Linked DNA regions of Homo sapiens: region 2 is linked to region 1. Evidence: promoter capture Hi-C in human tissues and cell types (Jung and others, 2019). All regions are on one chromosome and are shown on one strand. Each heading gives the region's core, a stretch centred on a gene start or on the middle of the fragment in contact. The rest is flanking DNA. Distances are from core to core; before and after follow the strand shown. Region 1 holds the start of KCNB1 (potassium voltage-gated channel subfamily B member 1). Region 2 overlaps PTGIS (prostaglandin I2 synthase).

Evidence for each region. The method cuts DNA at HindIII sites, captures the fragments that hold promoters and counts their contacts. A contact is called where the count stands out against the background at its distance.
Region 2: a contact is called between a fragment that was not itself captured here and the fragment with the promoter of KCNB1 in region 1, in 1 of the 25 tissues and cell types used here (aorta).

Annotation. Positions count from the first base shown.
Region 1 is chr20:49,476,981-49,484,027 of GRCh38, forward strand. KCNB1 (potassium voltage-gated channel subfamily B member 1) reads right to left here and starts at 5,688. Exons shown (of 2, transcript NM_004975.4): 1 at 4,934-5,688. The coding sequence starts at 5,500. The HindIII fragment of the contact is 16,129 bases long and covers 1-7,047 here.
Region 2 is chr20:49,526,381-49,533,427 of GRCh38, forward strand. The region is part of intron 5 of PTGIS (prostaglandin I2 synthase); the gene reads right to left. Among named protein-coding and RNA genes, the nearest start is that of PTGIS, 38 kb to the right of the region's middle. The HindIII fragment of the contact is 6,504 bases long and covers 460-6,963 here.

The DNA.
Region 1 (7,047 bases), core at 4,438-6,937:
ACTTCATACTTATAAAGTACTTTCCATTTACAAATTACATTCACATCTGAAATCTCATTGAATCATCAAAAGAGCCCTGAAAGGGAGCTATGACTATTATCACCATCAGGCAGATGAATTCACTGGACCTGAGAGCTAAAATGATCCACCCAAGGTCCCAGGATTTAGAAACATAGGCTTGGGAACCAGACAAACTTGGGTTCAAACCTTGGCTCTGCAATTTTCATTCCTTTGATAAATATTTACTGAGAACCTAGCTGTGTGGGCTCAGGCAAGTGACTTCGCCTCTCAGAGCCTCCATTTCCTGTTCTGTAAAAGAGTCTTCATACCACTTATCAGATCCATTCCCTCTCTCATCTGAAAATGCCAGACACTTGCTTTCTCAGGTTCCCTCAGAGCTAGAGCATGAGCATGTGACCTGTCCTGGCCAATGGGATTTTAAAAGAAGTCTGCTAGGGTGCTCCTGGGAAAGGGTTTCCTCTCAGAAAAAAAAAGAAAGTGGGCCAGGCGCTGTGGCTCACACCTGTAATCCCATCACTATGGGAGGCCAAGGCGGGCAGATCACTTAAGGTCAGACATTTGAGACCAGCCTGGCCAACATGGTGAAACTCTGTCTCTACTAAAAACCCCAAAATTACCTAGGCATTGTGGTACATGCCTGTAATCCCAGCTACTCGGCAGGAGGCTGAGGCAGGAGAATTGCTTGAACCCAGGAGGCGGAGGTTGCAGTGAGCTGCCGAGATCATGCCACTGCACTCCAGCCTGGGCGACAGAGCAAGACTCCATTTCAAAAACAAAAGAAAGAAAGTGGAGCATAGGAGAAAATGTTTCTCTTCACGGATTAAACATCACTGAATGTACGTCTGAGGGCTGGAACTGGGCAGCCATCTTGTGATATGAAGCATCAAGCATGAGGACCAAGCCACTTGCAGGGGTTGGGGAGCAGAGGAGCAGAGAGATGAAAAGAATCTAGAATCCTGGTGGCATCATTGAGCCATTAACTCAACCTAAAACCAACTGCCTTGGAACTTCATATTATATTCAATGATGCATCTTCCTCCTTATTGAAGCTACTTTGAGTTTTCTATTCTGCTGCTTGCAGCCCAAAGCATCCCTAACTGGCATACTACCTGGTTGTATCCCTGTTGGAGGAATTTCAATGAGATAGCAGATATGAAGCACCACTAATCAGTGCTGGGCACAACAAACATAAGCTACCCTGGAAATTAGGAAGTTATCTCAGGGCTTTAATCCTGAGACTATCCCAGGGATCACAGACACTCCTGGGCTGGCAAATCAGTTCCCTGTCTCTCCTACTGAGAAAAGCCTGTCGAGTTTTCCGAGAAAGCCAAAGCCCCGTGGTAGCCCCAGCACCGCAACCCTGTCACACCAATGGGGCTGTCCCCATCTTCTAAACAAGAATCAATCACACTGCCTTTTGCCTAATGGGTTTTGATTTTCGCTCCCCTGATGGCAAAGCCTAGGGCCTGTGCTTTGGTTTGTCTCCGAGTTGCCAGAACATCCCATCAATTATTAACAGTGTCAGCTCAGTCTCCCTGGCCCTGCTGCTCTCAGAAGGAAAGGGTTTGCAGCAACTCGGCCCACCCAGCCCTAGAAAAAAGACTCTTTTCCTTAGCATTTATAACAACAATCCCCACCTGCTATGTGCTAGGCTTTGAGCAAAATTTTGACAAATGTGATTTAATGAAGACCCTGTAAGGTGAGCCTTTTATCTCCATTTTACAGGTGGAAGGTTGGGACTTGGAAAGTTGGAGAAATTAGCTAAAAGCTATGGAAGTGGGGAGTGGCACAGAACCAGATCCATCCTTGCTCTTCAGCATATGAGATATGGCCACTTTTGTATCTTACAATCACCTAGAAATGATCCTCCATTTGGTCCTGTCACTCTGTGAGTTCTAAGCAATTTCCACAGGCTTTGCTTGTTTTGACAAGCAAGGCATCCAAGCTGGGGGGATGGGTGGGGATGGGATGGGCAAGGTGCAGATGACTCAAAGGAGGCCAGAGGCACAGGGACCTGGGTTGCAGGTGGGCAGTGAGAAGGGGTGACAGGTCCCCAAACCCTGAGACACAGTGACTGACTGCTTGCTTGCTTGCTTGATTCATTCATTCGTTCATTCATTCATTCGTTCATTCATTCATTTATTCATTCCACATGCTCCTCAGTGCCAGGCACCATCATGGGTGCTGGGAATCAAGCAGTGAATCAACTCATGGTACTCACATTCTTGTGGGTGTGAAACAGAGACACACAAAGAAGGAAATATAATTTCAGATGGCGTTTAAGGCCTCTGCAGGAAAGGCATTGCATGATGCAACAGAGAGTGAGGGGAGGGAAACTGTTTAGAACAGCGGTCAAGGAAGGTCTGTATGAGGAGGGGACATGTGAGCAGGGACCTGCTCAAATGAGGAAGGGGGAGAAGGGGCTGGCCAAGGGGGAATCTGGGGAAGAGCATTCCAGGCAGCGGAAACAGCAAGTGCAAGGGTCCTGAGGTCAGATAAACTCTGGCCTGTTTATGGAACAGCAAGGCCAGTGGGGCTGGAGCCAAGTGAACCAGAGGAGATCAAAAGAGATGAGCCCAGAGAGGTCATGGGGGCCAGATTCTGCCTGGGCCTTGTATGCCAGGATGAAAAGTCTGAATTTTATTTTGAGTGTGATGGGAAACTTCTGGAGGATTTTAAGCAGATGAATAATGTGATCCAATTTACATTTTGAAAAGCTCACTTTGGCTGCTATGTGGGGAATGGATTGCAGGGGCAAAAGTGGAAGCCGGGAGACTGGGGAGGAGGCTGCGGCACTTGATCATTATAGAAAGAACACTCGGTTTGGATTTCTGGCTACTCCTGACTGCCTGTGGTGTGACCTTAGGCAAGTTACTTAACCTCTTTCAGCCTCACTGTTTGCGAAAGGTGGGATAATAACAGAGCTGCGTTGTTACACTCCATACACAGTAGGTGTTTGATCATTGGCAGCCAGGATTTCTATTCTGAGGGCCAGTGAGCCTGCCTCCCTCCCCATTTCAGCTCTGGCTACAGAAAATCCTAGATGGTCCATCTGCCAGGAATGTGAGCTGGCAGCCCCAGACTGGGATCATGGAGAGGTCACAAGGCTGTCCCTGCTAGCGGATTAACCCAAGGGAGAGGAGAGGTTCTTTATTCCCAAACAGCACCTCTTGCAAGCCCCGGTGCTTGGGTCTTGCTGCCAGACCAAAACATGGCCCTGTGCCTGCTTCTTCTCTGGGAGGGCAAATTGTCCAGTTCCCTGTACCTTGTTCTCATGTCTTAGGGATGGGACAGGGAGGGAGAGTCACATTTGGGCCTAAATGGGATGTGCAGTGGGAGAACCTGTGTCATGCCTGGAAATAGCAAAATAAGTCTGTTGATCCTAAGCTGATTAAGGGTGAGTGACTCTGTCTTAGGAGGAGGCTTTTTGGACACAAAATTGGGGGCGGGATTATGGAGAGAGACAGCCCACAGCCTCAGAGGAGGAAGCCAGGCCCAGGAGCCTCTACATCCTTGTTAGGGCCAACAGGGAAACGAAAAAAACACGTGGGGGCTCCCTCCACCCTCTTACCAGCCACCCCTTCTCCATCCACTCTCAGGGGCCTCTCCTTGGGTGGCTAGATCTGGAGGAAGGACCCCACGGAGTCTCCCTTCAGACTGGGACCTGCAGGTGGGCCTTCAGTGAGAACTGAGCCGGAGACCCCACAATGAAAGGCTGGGCTGGACAGGAGTCAGCCCTAGCTAGTAAGATATGGCTGGATATTTAGGCTTCCTCCTCTCCTCTTTCTTTTACCACAAATCTACTTACCTGACCCCTTTTTTTAGGCCCCACACTCAGTTACATTCTCCCCATGTTTCCCAAGTTGGTCTTGCTGGATTTCAACATCAACATCTCTCTTTTCTGGGTTCTCCGTGAACCTCACAGAACCTCTTTTATAGCCTTGCACACACTGTTTTGTCATTTGCTCCCAGCACCCAGCACTTCGGGCACATGAAGACAGGCCCCATCTTTCCCAGGCAACCCCAAATCCCAGCCTGACGTAGAGAAGTTGCTGATCAACCAGTGCCCTCCTGCCCTGCCTTGGCTCCCACCCCAAGCCTTCCTCAGTCCCCTACAGCCCCTGCCATTACCCAGCAGCACCAAAGACTCTCTGGCCCACTCTTTGTGTTCAAACTCATTCCTGCCTCCTCCTCCTCCTCCTCCTTTATTTTTCACATTGCCTCATTTTTCTCTCCTATTTTGAAATTTACATCTTGTTCCAAGAGCTGAAACATCTTTACAAGCTGCACCAAACCATTCTGGAAATAAACTCACCAAATAAATAAGTAACCAGGGGGTGACCCCTCACCCGCAAGCATCCACAACCAACTGCATGTGTCGTGTGGGTCCACACCCACCCCTCGGGGTCCCTTCTTACTTATGTTTAAACTATCTGACAGTATCTCAATGTCCTGTAAGCATGTCTGTAAGCTGCTTTTTTCCCTTGCTGGGGCAGAGTGAGGTTATAAATATGGAGATATTAAAATCACAGGGTGATCCAATCCAGCCTAGGTCTGGGACTTCACAGGGAAGCAAACCCTACTCCACCCCAGCAAGCCACTGTTGTCTCTCTGTGCTCTCTCTCTTATTCGTCAGTGTCCATCTTCTTGCTGTGGCTTTTTATGGGTCCCTGTGAAACCTCTCCAACCAAGTAGGGGTATAACGTCTTGGATAATAAAAAGATGGAGTGACCAGTGCCACATGGGAAAAGTCTGAGGGGGTTGGTCCTCACCTCTGGGGACTCAGTCCTAGCCCCTCCCCATTACTAATCTTCATCGTTGGGAACAAAGCCAGAGTCCTCCAGCAGTGGTCCTCAATATGGGGATGCAAGCAGATCCCCCCAGACCAGCAGCCCCCAGATCCCAGACTCACCTTGGCAGCCACAGAGGAATTGGGCTTCTCCAGTAGGTCCCAGAGTTTTTTCCTCTTCTCTGCGCAGCACGTGTTATCGAACTCCTCGCCTTCCCGCTCCCGTAGGGTCTCGGCCTCACGCTTGAGCTCCTCGTTCATCTGCTCTTTCTTCTGGTGGTAGCGGGCCTGGCAGCAGGACTCCAGGTAGATCTCGTCGATGCCCCAGTAGTCGAGCTCTTGGCTGAAGCTGAGCGCGCACATCTCCTCCATCATGTGCAGTCGCCCAGTGCGGTAGAAGTTGAGGATGGAGGTGAAGGCGCCCGGGTGGCGGTCAAAGAAGTACTCGTTGTCGTCGAGGCTGTAGTCATCGCACACCTCGAGCAGCGAGTCGTGCGTGTTGCAGTCGCGGAGCTTGCCCAGCCGCGTGCGGGGCAGGCGGTCCAGGGTACGCCAGAGTACCTCGTGCGCCAGCCCCCCGACGTTGAGGCGGACCCGCCGAGAGCACGCCTTGCTGCGCACGATCTCCATGGGCTCGGGCGGCAGCGAGCTGGTGGAGCGGGAGCCATGCTTCGTCATGCCCGCCGGCATCGCTGATCCGGCCGCCCCCGCCCCCCCTGCCCCCCCAGGCCGCTGTCACTCGACGGCAAGGCCCGCTGCTGCGGGGGAGGGGGGCAGGGAGCGCTGTGGGCTGCTGGGGGTGCAGGGGGCCCCGCGGGCGCGCGTCACGGCCGTCTTCTCACCTCCATCCCGACGGCTGCGAGGCAGAAAGCGAAAGCGGACGCGGGTCAGCAAACGGGGAGCTGGGCATGCTGTCCCCCCGCCCCCCACCTCTCCACCAGGCTCCCAGCCGGCCTTGACCTTCCCCCGCGCTTAAGCGGCTCAGTGGGGTAGGACGGATGGTCGCTGTCCCTCCCGCCGGTGCTGAAGTCCGCCGCACCCCATGGATGGAGGGAGGGGCCGCCCCTCGGGGCGGGGAGAGGGCCCCAAGAGATGCCCCTGGAGCCCGGGAGGCCCCACCCTGGGCTTCTGCGGCCCAGGCGCGACCCAGCCGCCCGGGGCGCTGTCCGCCCCTTAGAGTGCTGAAACTCTCTTCATTATGGGTCTCCCGATCGAGTCCCGAACCTGGCCCCGCCATGGGGAGAGAGGGGGAGCTGCATGAAAACTTTCTTTCTTTATCTTTTTCTTTCTTTCTTCTTCTTCTTTCCTTCTTTTTTTTTTTTTTAACGAGTTCTCTTCTTTTCCTTCCCCTTCTCGAGATAATCAAGATTTTGGGGGTGGGGGAATGGCAGCGGGCTTTTTTCCAAATCTTAAAAGATTTGGGGGAATTCCGGGGGTTCCAGGTGCCCACCTGTCCGAGGTCACAACAGACGGGGTGTGCACAACAGCCCCTCTGTCCTGGAGCGACCCCTCTTCCCAAACACTGGAGCATCTCCTGAGATTGCTCCAGCGACAAGGTGAGCCGCGAGGAGGAAAAGCCCGCTCTCGCCTCTCCCTCTGAGCCCCCAACCCTACCGCAGGAGGGGCGGGCAGAGTCCTCGGGATCCGCCTGCTCCGTCCTCCCCTCGCTCCTTCCCCGCCCCCTTCTCCTCCTTCTCCTCCCCCTCCTCTTCCTTCTCCCCCTCCTCCTCCTCTTCCTCCTCCTCCTCCTCCTCCTCCTACTCCTCCTCCTCGTTCCTCTCCCGCGATGGCTTTTTATAACTCCGGGTTCTGCGCCTTTCCCCGGGCTTGGAAGGGAAGGGGTGGGGGAGGTGGGAGGCGGGGAAATGAGCTAAATTTTCTGGCCTTTTCAAAAGGTGCCATCCTCCTACCGCGCACTAGTGATTTCGGGGGGTTCCCCTGAGCACCCCCTGCATGTAGGGCTCACGCCTTAGCCCCAGAATGGGGATTGCGCGTCCCCTCAGGCCTCAGCCCTTGCCTGCCTCCCACCCCGCTCCCCTCCAGCCTGGAGCTGCGGAGCCCGAGCAGACCAACAGGCCGAGCTGCGGCAGGCAAACCCCCTGTCCGTGTCCCCATGCACCCCCACGGAAGGCCGTACGCCCCAACACTCACCCCCAGGGCGGCCGCCTCCTGGGGCCAGGGACCGCGCATCGTCCCGGCCGCCCGGGCGCCCCCGCCCGTGGGCAGCGGCGGTCCCG
Region 2 (7,047 bases), core at 2,462-4,961, 47 kb after region 1:
TGTAAACACGGCGTTTACAGATGACTTTAAAAAGCAAGGCAGGACCATTCTCCACTTTTCCCCTGTGCCTACAGCAGTTCTGAGTACATAGGAGGCACTCTATATTTGCACAATCAATGAATAATTAAGCAAAAAAGGTAATGCAGTATGAAAAGACAGCTGACAGAAAGTGAGAAAATATTTGTAAATAATATATCTGATAAGGGTCTAACACCCAAAATATATAAAAGAACTCCTACGACTCAACAACAATAAAAAACAAACAACCTGATTTGAAAATTGGCAAAGGACTTGAATAGATATTTCTCCAAAGAAGAGATACAAATGGCTGATAAACACATGAAACAATGCTCAACACCATTAGTCATTAGAAAATGCATGTAAAAACCACAGTGTGATACCATTCACAACCATGAGGATGGCTACTATTTAAAACATAGGAAATAAGTGATGGTGAGGACGTGGAGAAATTGGAACCCTTATGCATTGCTGGTGGGAATGTAAAATACTGCAGTTGCTGTGAAAAAGAGTTTAGCAGTTCCTCAGAAAGTTAAAGAATTACCATATGATCCAGTAATTCTAGTTCTAGGTATATAGCCCAAAGAACTGAAACCAGAGACTCAAACAGATACTCGTGCACCAATGTTCATAGCAGCATTATTCACAGTAGCCAAAAGGCAGAAACAACCCAAATGTCGGTTGATAGGTGAATGGATAAATAGAATGCAGTATATACACACAATGTATTCACTCTTAAAAAGGAATGAAATTCTGACGCATATGCCAGGCATGGTGGCTCACGCCTGCAATCCTAGCACCTTGGGAGGCCAAGGTGGGCAGATTTCCTGGGCTCAGGAGTTAGAGAACCAGCATGGGCAACATGGTGAAACCCTGTCTCTACTAAAATACAAAAAAAAAAAAAAAAAATTAGCCAGGCATGGTGGTGTGTACCTGTAATCCCAGCTACTCAGGAGGCTGAGGCACAAGAATAGCTTGAACCCGGGAGGCGGAGATTGTAGTGAGCTGAGATGGCGACACTGCACTCCAGCCTGGGCGACAGAGACTCTGTCTCCAAAATCTCATATAATGAGAATCCTAGAACAGGAAATTCAGAGACAGAAAGTACAATAGAAGTATACTATTCGACAGAAAGTAGAATAGAAAGTAGAATAGAAGAGACAGAAAGTAGAATAGAAGATATGTCGGGCTGGGAGGAAAGGCAGGTGGGGAATTATTGTTTAATGGGCACAAAGCTTTTGTTTAGAATCATGAAAAGTTTCTGGAAATAGATAACGGCATGGTTATACAACATTGTGAATGTATTTACTGCCACTGAATTATACAATTAAAATGGTTAAAATAGTATATTTTATGTTATTTATTATTTTACCACAATTTTTTTAAAAGGCATATGAAGGTCATTTGGCAAAAATGAGTCAAAGATAGTGTTGTATAACAAAGAATTTGCATTCTGGGCGGGTGCAGTGGCTCACGCATGTAATCCCAACACTTTGGGAGGCCAAGGTGGGCAGATCACTTGAGTTCAGGAGTTTGAAGCCAGCCTGACCAACATGGTGAAACCCCGTCTCTACTAAAAATACAAAAAAGGATAAGCTGGGGGTGGTGGCAGGCACCTGTAATCCCAGTTACTTGGGAGGCTGAGGCAGCAGAATCACTTGAACCCGGGAGGTGGAGGTTGCAGTGAGCTGAGATGGAGCCACTGCACTCCAGCCTGGGTGACAGAGTGATACTCAAAATACAAAAGAATTTGAATTCCAAGGTTTCAGTTACCCATGGTCAACCATGGTCCAAAAATATTAAATGAAAAATTCCGGACATAAACAGTCATAAGTTTTAAATTACATGCTGTTCTGAGTAGTGTGTTGAAATCTTGTGCCATCCTGCTCTGTCCTGCCTGGCAAAAAACACAGGATAAAAATATAGCAGTGGGCTGGGTGCAGTGGCTCACTCCTGTAATCCCAGCACTTGGGGAGGCCGAGACGGGCAGATCACCTGAGGTCAGGAGTTCGAGACCAGCCTGGCCAACATGGTGAAACCCCATCTCTAACAAAAATATAAAAATACAAAAATTAGCCAAGCATGGTGGTGGGCGCCTGTAGTCCCAGCTACTCAGGAGGCTGGGGCAGGAGAATCGCTTGAACCCAGGAGGCAGAGGTTGCAGTGAGCGGAGATTGCACCACTGCACTCCAGGCTGGACAACAGAGCAAGCAAGACTCTGTCTCAAAAACAAAAAAAATATATATATAGCAGTGATTGGATCATGGATCAAATCAGTTTACATTTGTATATCCCTTAGAGCAGTGTAGAGGACACACTAAACCTTACCCAAGAGTTATCTATTGCTGTGATATATTGTTAGCACAAAGCAAAGTGCCAGCAACCACGTGTTTAGTATGCATTTGTGGAAAAAAAGAAAAATAAGAATATAGTCACATTCACTTGCACTTGTGTGAAGGAACTCTAGAAGGATCCATTTGAAACTAATAAAACTAATCAATTATGAGCAGTGGGAATTGGTGGAAGGGGATGTGACAAGAAAAGGAAGGAGACTTACCACTGTTATTACTTAATTTTTTTCCAGCCTTGCTGAGGTATAATTGACAAAGGAAAATTCTTATTTAAGTTGTACAACATGATGTTTTGATACACAAATATGGTGTGAAATGATTGCTGCAATCAAGCTAATTAGCATATCCATCACCTTACATAGGTGCACACTCACACGTGCATGCATGGTGAGAATACTTAAGATCCACTCTCTTAGCAAATTTCAAGTATACAATACATTGTATACTTGTATATTAAATCTCCAGAACTTATTCATTTTATAACTCAAAGTTTATACCCTCAACCAACACACCCCCATTTCCCCACCTCCTGAGCCCTGGTAACCACTGTTCTACTGTTCCTCTGAATTCAACTTTTTTAGCTCCCACGTATAAATGACATAATGCGGTATTTGATTTTCTGTGTCTGGCTTATTTCACTTACAATATTGTCTTCCAAGTTCATCTATATTGTTACAAATGGCAGGATTTCTCCCTTTTTATGGCTGAATAACATTCTTTCGTGGATTTACATACACAGCAGTCCTGTCTTATCCAGTTTCACTTTCCAAGGTTTCCATCACCCATAGTCAACCATGGTCCAAGAATATTAAATGAAAAACTCCCTAAGTTTGAAATCGCACACCATTCTGAGTAGCATGATGAACTCTTGTGCCATCCTGCTCCATCTTGCCTGGGGGGTGAATCATCCCTCTGTCCGGTGTATCCACACTGTAGACCACACCTGCCCATTAGTCACTTGGGAGCCACTGTCTCAGTTATCACGTCAACTGTCATGGTATGGTAGTACTTGTGTTCAGGTAACCCTTATTTTGTTTTCATTACAGTATATCGTTATAATTGGTTTCATTTTATTATGTTGTTAATCTCTTACTGTGCCTCATTTATAAATTAAACTTTATCAGGCCAGGCATGGTGGCTCACGCCTGTAATCCCAGCACTTTGGAAGGCCGACGTGGGCGGATCACCTGAGGTCGGGAGTTCGAGTCCAGTATGACCAACACAGAGAAACCCTGTCTCTACTAAAAATACAAAATTAGCTGGGTGTGGTGGTGCATGCCTGTAATCCCAGCTACTCAGGAGGCTGAGGCAGGAGAATCGCTTGAATCTGGGGGGCGGAGGTTGTGGTGAGCCAAGATTGCACCATTGCATTCCAGCCTGGGAGACAAAAACGAAACTCTGTCTCAAAAAAAAAAAAAAAAAATTAAACTCTGTCATAGTTATGTATGTATAAGACAAAACAGTATATACAGGGTTCAGTACCACCCATGGTTCCTGACATCCACTGGGGGTCTTGGAACATATCCCCTGAGGTTAAGAGGGGGCCATTGTACCACTATCTCTGTATCTGTTCATGCACTGATGGACACTTAGTTTGTTTCCATGTCTCAGCTGTTGTGAATAATGCTGCAATGAATTGGAGGTGCAGACATCTCTTCAAGACAGTGATTTCATTTCCTTTGAATATATACCTAGAAGAGGGATTGCTGGATCATGTGGTAGCTCTATTTTTGATTTTTTAGGAACCTCCATACTGTTCTCCATGATGGCTATACCAATTTAAATTCCCACCACCAGTGCGAAAGAGTTCTCTTTTCTCCACATCCTTGCCAATATTTGTCATCTTTTGACATTTCTAACGGGTGTGTGGTGATATCTCCTTGTGATTTTGATTTGCATTTCCCCAATGAGTAGTGATGTTGAACACCTTTTCATACCTGTTGCCATTTGTATGTCTTCTTTGGGAAAAATGCCTATTCTGGTCCTTTGTCCATTTTGCAGTCAGGTTATTTGGATTTTTGTGTTTTTTGAGGCAGAGTCTCGCTCTGTCGCCAGGCTGGAGTGCAGTGGCGTGATCTCGGCTCACTGCAACTTCCACCTCCCGGGTTCAAGCAATTCTCCTGCCTCAGCCTCCCGAGTAGCTGAGACTACAGGCGTGCACCACCACGCCCAGCTAATTTTTGTATTTTTTAGTAGAGACAGGGTCTCACCATATTGGCCAGGATGGTCTCGATCTCTTGACCTCGTGATCTGCCCAACTCGGCCTCCCAAAGTGTTGGGATTACAGGTGTGAGCCACCGCTCCCAGATGTTATTTGGAATTTTTGGTATTGAGTTGTATGAGTTCCTTATCTATTTTGGATGTTAACCCCATATCGGGTATGTGGTTTGTAATCTACTTTACATTTTTAATGTTTAAACCACGCGAAATAATTTTTAAAATAAAATAATAGAAAATCTGGCAAACCCCCCAAAAATAATTTCCAGTGAAACATCATATACTGTAGAGATTCAAGGAATTCAGTGCATATGGGAGTGAGGAAGAGAAGATTCTGGAAAACTGAGCTTGGTGGCTCAACCTGGGGCCCTGCAGATGAGCAAAGCTGTGTAGTTAAAGGGGGAGTCTGCATAAAGCCCCCTCCTGAAATGTGGTCGTGGGAAGAAAGCAAATGTTCGAAATGGTTACAGCACATTTATACAATTCACTACAGACGTTCAACAAAACAGATACGGAGAAATGCAACTATTTACTTCCATTCCTAATTATTTCAATATTTAGGTTGCCCCAAAAATCAAAAAAAGACAAAATTTTAAAAATCTTCCCACTGGGAAAACAGAGGCTTGCTGTCTACTTGGGATTCCAGTACAATTTGCTATTTTGTTGTTTTTTTTCTTTTGAGACAAGGTCTTGCTCTGTCACTCAGGCTGGAGTGCAATGGCGTAGTCTGGCTCACTGCACCCTCAACCTCCTGGGCTCAAGTGATCCTCCCACCTCAGCTTCCTGAGTAGTTGAGACTACAGGTGTGAGCCACCACAACTGGCTAATTATTATTATTATATTTTGTAGAGACAAGGTCTGTCTATATTGCCCAGGCTGGCCTCAAACTCCTGAACAAAAGTGATTCTCCTGCCTTGGCCTCCCAAAGTGCTGGATTACAGGTGTGAGCCACTGTGCGCAGCCTCATGCTGTATTTTAATGTCTGCATAAAGGCCAAGTGTTGTTCTGGGAAACAGAGTAGCCGCAAGCCCCAGGGAGTTATGGAGCATTTGAAATGCGGCTGGCTCGAATGCAGCCACATTTAATATAGGGTAGGGGAGACACTGGATTCCAGAGTCAGCATGAGAAACAAAATGTAAAATATCTTATCAATAATTTTAACATTGGTTAATGCTAAAATGCTAATAATATTTTAGATGTATTGGCTTAAATAAAATGTATTATTAAAATCGATTTCACTTCTATTTTTCTTTTTTAGTGTGTCTAATAGAAAATTTTAAATTACAAATGTGATTCCCATTATTTGTCTATGTACAGCACTGTTCTAGAAGGATAACAGCAAACAGATAGCAATAGTTACCTGGGGATAGATTTAGAGGGAATGTGGTCAAAAGAGAATTTTCCTTTTTGAAATATTTGATTTTTTTTTAACAAAAGTCAGAGGAGCCCAGTTAAGAGGCCCAGTGCTGTAGCAGAGTGCCTGACCTTGAACAAGTCACCTCACATCTCAGCATCTCAGTTTTCTTGCCTGTAAATTGGGATAATAAAAGTACCCACCACAGAGGGTTATATACAGATCAAATGCGTTATTAACATCTAAAGCACAGAGATGACTGACACAGTCCTAATAAACGCTATATTATTAAATAACAAATCTTACTGAATGTTAGCAAATTATTAGCCCAAGGAGAACATGTTCATGAATTGCTTCTTTAATTAAGAAACAATAATAAATTGCGAAATACAGAGCACAAAGTTTGAAGACAGAGAGCATTGAAATCCCAGCTCTTCCCTTTCTAACGAGATGACCTTGGCCAAGTCACTTTGCATCTCTGAGCCTCAGTTTCCCCCATGTGTAAAATGAGGGCCATCTAGCTCATAGGATGGTCAGGAGGATTCAGAAAGATCACACACAGAACACACTTGGTATCGGTAGAAGTTTGTAAAATGCTACTTGCTACATTCTCTCCATTATTACGAGGTATTTCTTATTGGTGTGATAACCGGATGCCATGAATGAGGGCTGCCAGGCCCACGGTGATTGGCAGCCCACCAATTTAAACCAGATTGGTGTATCTGGTTTAAATCCCAGAGTCCCCATGCTATGTAGCCTCGGCTGAGCCCCTGCCCATCTCTGGACCTCAGTCTCCTCATCCAAAAAATGAGGACCCAGACTTGAATACCTCTCAAGTTTTTTCTGGGAAAGCCCTCTAGGCCCTCTAGATTTGGGGGCATAGTACAGAGAGGCCCCCAGAAGACACATGTCTTTAAAGTCTTGTGTTTTACCTTTGAAATGCATCAGAGTTTTGCATCAGACTCTGTGATTCTTTGATATAAGAATGCCTTTTTCCCCAAAACAATGTTCAAATAAACAGCCCCCCAAAATAATCCAGTAAAATAAATGTTCCAGACAGAAGCACTATGCTTAGCTAGGGGGTCTGTTTAACTGTCCCCTGCCCCC